Regions from separate parts of the Homo sapiens genome. Here region 1 is linked to region 2. Evidence: promoter capture Hi-C in human tissues and cell types (Jung and others, 2019). All regions are on one chromosome and are shown on one strand. The core of a region is centred on a gene start or on the middle of the fragment in contact, and the rest is flanking DNA. Distances in the headings are between cores, read along the strand shown.

Region 1 (3,130 bases), core at 448-2,947, 480 kb after region 2:
GGTACACATTAATTCATTAATCTCAACTTTTCTTAATTTAGTAGCTCTTGTTACTATGGATAATCTGGGAATTCTGTCTTTTAAGCAATTTAAAATATAACTGGTATGCATTTGTATTTTCTTCCCAGAGTAGAATCATTGGATTTTTTAGATATGAATGAGAGGATTCACCTTTTTATAACAGCATCCTAAGAAAGTCACTATGTGCTATTTGAGTATTAACTATTTAGTACTACCCCTGATTATCGATTATGTAATAAGACAAGATCATATATAAATGTACCTTTTGATTCTGTAAGAATGTAGTTGTCTAGAATTTTTATATTTGGATTTTAATTAACTTTTGGTTAGTAAAGTTGAGAAATATTTAGTAAAGAATCATGGTTACTAAATATTATTCATTGTTTAGTAATATTTATTTGAGTAGATAATTTATGTCATGACCAGTTTAAGGCCCTGGGAATGCAGGGATGAATAAGCCTTCATGGAGCTTATATTTTAGTGGGGAAGATAAGAAATGAGCTAATCTGTCATGTGAAGAAGTGGTAAGTGCTATGAAAAAATATAACACAGAATAAGGGGAGAGACTGTGACGGGGTGGGAGCTATTTAGATAGATTAGTCAGAAAAGGCTGTTCCTGTGAGGAAGAAAATCTTGCAAAACTTATTTCAGGTAACAGTAAACGCAAAGACAGGAAAGACAGAGTCAGGACCTAACTCAGTAAGAACCGGTTTGGTATGTTGGAGGAAAAGCAAGAATGCTGGTCTGACAAGAGCTGTGAGGACAAAGTGGAGAGTAACAAGAGATGAGGGTGAAGAGGTAGGCAGGGGCCAGAGCATATTGCACCATAATGCCCATGGATTTTGAGTATAATTGAAGATCGTGTGACAAGATCTAATTTACATTTTACAAAGTTTATTCCACCTACTGACTGGCAAACTGGCTTTAGAAAAGGCAAGGTCTGAAGCACTGAACTATTTAGGAAGCTTTTGCAGTGATCTAGGCCTATGGTTTCCAATGTTCAGGAACAAACTGTTAAAACTATTATATTAACTATTTATATTGCTTTATTTAAAAAAATTAAGCTTTACTAATATTTAATATACAGATTGGCACTGGCATCCTTGTCTTATCTGCACGTTAGTCACATGTCATTTAACATTTTTGGCTTGAGCAACTGGTGAATGTTGGTGCCATTTACTGGAATGAGAAGACTGAGGGAGGAGCAGGGTTTGTTTTGAGGTGAGAGTGAGTTGGGGAATCAGTATCTCAGTTTTGAGCATTTTAGGTTTGTGAAATCTAAATACCTACTAGAAATCTAATATCAGGTAGATGGTTTAGATATATGAATCTGGAGCCAAGGTTAGAAGCCAAGATTAGAGATCTAAATTTGGAAATCATTAGTATAGAGACAGTATACACCAGCTTTGGAGCCAAACTGTGAATGCAAATTTCAGTTCTGCCACTTACTAACTGTGTAATTATAGGCAAGTTACTTGACATCTGTCTGCATCATTTATCTCATCTGTAAAATGGGGGTAATAATGTCTACCTCATAGGGTTATTGTGAGGATTAAATTAGTTATTACAAACAAAGTGATTAGAACAGTGTGGCCGAGGGTACTCACTAGATGTTAACTGTTAGGATCAGTTTTTGAATAGTGTTTAAGCCATGAGATTAGGGCCGGGTGCGATTGCTCACTTCTGTAATCCCAGCATTTTGGGAGGCCGAGGCAGGTGGATCGCTTGAGCCCAGGAGTTCGAGAGCAGCCTGGCAAACATGGTGAAACCCCGTCTCTACTAAAAATACAAAAATTAGCCAGGTGTGGTGGCGTGTGCCTGTAGTCCCAGCTACTCAGGAGGCTGAGGCAGGAGAATCACTTGAACCTGGGAGGCAGATGTTGCAGTGAGCCAAGATTGCGCCACTGCACTCCAGCCTGGGTGACAGAGCAAGAGTCTGTCTCCAAAAAATAAAGACCATGAGATTAGATAACTTAGAGAATGAGTTTAGATAGGGAAAAGGGCCAAGGAGGGACCCCTGAAGCAATATAACCTTTAGAATTCAGAAACTGGGTTGGGTGCGGTGGCTTTCGCCTGTAATACTAGCACTTTAGGAGGCTGAGGCGGGCAGATCACCTGAGGTCAGGAGTTTGTGACCAGCCTGGCTAATATGGTGAAAAACCCTGTCTCTACTAAAAATACAAAAATCAGCTGGGTGTTGTGGCAGGCGCCTGTAATCTCAGCTACTCAGGAGGCTGAGGCAGGAGAATTGCTTGAACCTGGGAGGCGGAGGTTGCGGTGAGCCGAGATTGTACCATTGCACTCCAGCCTGGGCTACAGAGCGGGACTCCATCTCAAATAATAATAATAATAATAATTCAGAAACTGGAGAGAGGAGATTGAGGAGTGAAGTAGGAATCAAACCTGAAGGGTATGTTGGCTAGAAGCCTGCCTAGTGAAGAAAATATTTCAACTTAGACAAATTCTGCTTGAGAGGCTAAGATGAGCACCAAGAATTGACCAACTGGGTTTGTCAAGATGGAAGTTTTTGGAGACCTTGAGAAGTAGTTTTATTAGAGTGGTGGGGATGAAAGCCTGATTAGCATAGCTGAAGGACAGAATTGGATGTACGAAATTGGAGGCACTGAGTATAGATGGCACATTAGAGGAGTTTTGCTGCAAAGAGGGATAGAGAAAATGGTGTGGTAGCTAGAAGAAAATGTGTGGGGTCAAGGAAAGTTAGGGGTGTGTATGTGTGTTGATTTAAAGATGGAAAATAGTATAGTAAGTTTGCATGCTGATGAGAATGACCCAGTGGAAAGAAAAAACTGATCATATTTGAGATGTGGAAAATATCATGGGAAATTGCAGCAGCCATGACCTTGAGTAGGTAAAATGAAGGTGCATAAGGGGAGAAGTTGATTTTAAAACATTGGCAGAGACTTTTCATCCATTGATGAAGGTAGAGAATATTAATGGAGGTACAGATAGACTGGTAGATGTCGTTGTGGGAAAATGTAGTTTTTTCTGATTGCTTTAATTTTTATGGAAAAGTAGGGTAGGATCATCAGTTGAGAGTCAGAATTGGGAGGGGGTTTATAAAATTTGAGAGAGAGGAGGTGGTGTGATA
Region 2 (3,088 bases), core at 135-2,634:
GGCTGCAGCCAGCAGATGGCACTGCAGCAGAAAGGGGCAGAGTCCCTTTAGGCCCTTGACAAGCACGGCGGATTAGTAACCGTATAATTTAACCCTCCAGTTAGCCTTGGAGGACTCGGTGTCGCACTTCCGCCCGAACTCTAATAAAGCGGGCCGAGTTGTGTGCAATTAAGGATTTCAGTATGCAAATCTGAATCTGTACTTTTGTCTCCTCCACCCCACCCCCATCATTAGACTGGCAATGTCTTTTGTCACGTTGTCAAAGTGTCCTCAGAGAAGCGGTGTCTAGATATCGCCGATTTCTGGTTAAAGTGGCTGAAGTGATCCCAGCATTAATTAAATGCAGGAGAATCGAGATTCTCCTGATAGTTTAAGGAAAAGAAAAATTCACACAAGCAAACGGGCAACCCTTTGAATGTTTTCCGACGACGTGGTGCTTTAGGATCTGAAAGATGCGACTTGGTTTTTGTTGTTGTTGTTGTTGTTGTTGTTGTTTTTGAGACGGAGTTTCCGCTCTTGTTGCCCAGGCTGGAGTGCAATGGCGCGATCTCGGCTCACCGCAACCTCCGCCTCCCAGGTTCAAGCGATTCTCCTGCCTCGGCCTCCCGAGTAGCTGGGATTACATTACAGGCATGAGCCACCATGCCCGGCTAATTTTGTATTTGTAGTAGAGACGGGGTTTCTCCATGTTGGTCAGGCTGGTCTCGAACTACGATCTCAGGTGATCCGCCTGCCTCGGCCTCCTAAAGTGCTTAGATTACAGGCATGAGCCACCGCGCCCGGCTAATTTTGTATGTTTAGTAGAGACGGGGTTTCTCCTTGTTGGTCAGGCTGGTCTCGAACTCCGACCTCAGGTGATCCGCCTGGCTCGGCCTCCCAAAGTGCTGGGATTACAGGCGTGAACCACCGCGCCCGGCCGCGACTTGTTTTTGTTACAAGGTTCCTCATTTCATTTGCAACGTTCAGACGCAGTCTGACTAGATTTCCATCCGGAGTAAGGAAGAGCAGCTCAAGGGCAGTCACGGAGGCCGCAGGTGCGGCTTCTTCACCCGCGGTGCTGGAGTTCTCTCAAGTGGAAGCCCAGGACGATGAAAACCTCATAGGTAGGCTGCTGCTTACACACAGCAGCCGCCACGGCGCAAAATAAACTACAAAACTACAAGCCTTTACCTTTTCAAACACACTGACGCGGGCCAGCCCCAGCCCTACGCCCGCAGGGGCACGCAGAAAAGACTTAGTTACCACGGCCAAGTACGAAGCCTTCGAGATAGCGTTCTTCTTACCCTACGTAAACACGCAGTTTCCCGAGCTCGACAATCGGCTAGCCACTCCTGATAGCGTTCGGCGCTCGCCTCTCGGCCCTTGCTCCTGCGTACTACGGCTTCTTCCAGTCACCTCGGCCCGGATCGGGAAGTGTCAAGCGGGCGCTCCCCCATCTCCGCCGCTATTACCACTGAACCCGGACCCCCTACCCAGGTCCAGGGCCAGCCGCCATGACGAACGGTGAGAACTGATGCCCTGAGCGGAGGGTGGGAGTGAAGGACGAAGGGAAAACGTGGCGGGCGGGGCCGGGACTGACGTGGCCGTTCTCCCCGCCCCCTCCCAGCCCGGCCCCCCTTGGCCTCTCGACGCCCCTAACTTCTGTACCCCTATACTCCTCTACGGGTTCCCCCTTCCCATATTCATCTAGGACCCCCAGTGCCTCTTATGCTCACACCTCGAGTTATCTATCCCTATGCTTTGCTTTCCCTTTTCTTTTTCTTAGTTCTTTCTGGCCCTTGGAGAGGTCAGTCCCAGAGGTACTACTGCTATTTAAACCCGGGGAAGAGAGAGGCTCCTCCTCCCAGCTCCCTGCGTTCTCATGCTTTCGGACCGTAGTTTTGTTGAGAGGGCCAATAAATGACATAGAATATCAAGTCCCACACTTTTGGGGTTGCTGGTGAATGTAGACCCCACAAAAGCTTCTTCTTACGGAAAAATACCGGAAAGATTTCTGATTTTAAAGTCCTGGCGGGGTGATCCCACGTGGAGACCCTGACTAGTGTTGCAAAGGGTGGATTTAGACACTGCCTCTTCTAGATGATGAGGCAGTTTATCTGACCTAATTTTCCAGGCCTCTTCAAACACTTTATGAATTCTGAATTCCAGAGGAGGACAGGAAGGAGGGCCTTCATGATTTTTAGTGTCAACCTTACAGGAAAGGAGAAGAGAAAGCCTTTTAGGCATTACGATGATTTGAGGGGCTCCGGAAAGCATTTCTCAAAAGTACTTTGTCCATAGACCTGGCACTGAAGACTCGAATTTAACCTCCTTGTGAATTTTGGCATTGTCTGCAGAAACTTATGAGAGAAAAGGGGTAGCACGTGAAGGTATAGTTCCTCAGAAAACCTTAGTGTATGTATTAATTTGCTGGACCCTTTCTTAGTGACAGCTTAGCTGTGAGACAGTTTTACTGGAGGAAGAGAGGTAGTGTGATCTAGAACTGGCAGACACTGGTTATATATAATATTCATTTGGAGCTTCCTGGGAAGTCAGAGGTCTCAGGATACTAGGCACAGTAAGAAAAGGGAATTTACCCAGAGGAAGACAGAATCTGAACCAGGAAGTAAGACAGCAGTTTGACACGGTAGTTGCTGAATAAATTTTAGTCATTCTTCCCCCATTTTGTGGTCCAATATCTTCTTGTTTTTTGCAATTAGGTGATTCATTGTGCTTCCCTGTACAAGAAATAAGCTTGGTTTATGTATTTAAGAAACAGAGCTAAGAAGTTAAAGCTTTCTATGTTGAAGCCTTAGATACTTTTTCTTTGTTTTAGAAAAATCTGTTATTATTCTGGCAGAAATTCGGTTTGTTAAGAGTATCATCCATAAAGTGTAAGATAATGATAGGAAAATTGTAGTCATGTGGATTCTTACTCTTGCAACTTTCATTAAGCTTAATTTTTTGCCTTAACATATTCTTCACCAACAGTTGCACATCTGACAGTTTTGGCTACATATCTAGCTCTCCTTTATCATATGAGTGATTTATAACAAGAACATGTTAAATTCTCTGTGCTGAGTCTCTAAGGATTCATATGTCTCAATCT

The links. The method cuts DNA at HindIII sites, captures the fragments that hold promoters and counts their contacts. A contact is called where the count stands out against the background at its distance.
Region 1: a fragment that was not itself captured here is called in contact with the fragment with the promoter of TMEM167B in region 2 in 1 of the 25 tissues and cell types used here (psoas muscle).

What each region holds. Positions count from the first base shown.
Region 1 is chr1:109,569,954-109,573,083 of GRCh38, forward strand. The region is part of intron 1 of GNAI3 (G protein subunit alpha i3); the gene reads left to right. Among named protein-coding and RNA genes, the nearest start is that of GNAI3, 23 kb to the left of the region's middle. The HindIII fragment of the contact is 7,050 bases long and covers 1-3,130 here.
Region 2 is chr1:109,089,380-109,092,467 of GRCh38, forward strand. TMEM167B (transmembrane protein 167B) reads left to right here and starts at 1,385. Exons shown (of 3, transcript NM_020141.4): 1 at 1,385-1,503. The coding sequence starts at 1,494. It also overlaps the pseudogene NDUFB3P1. RefSeq lists an enhancer at 1,019-1,218. The HindIII fragment of the contact is 5,904 bases long and covers 1-2,347 here.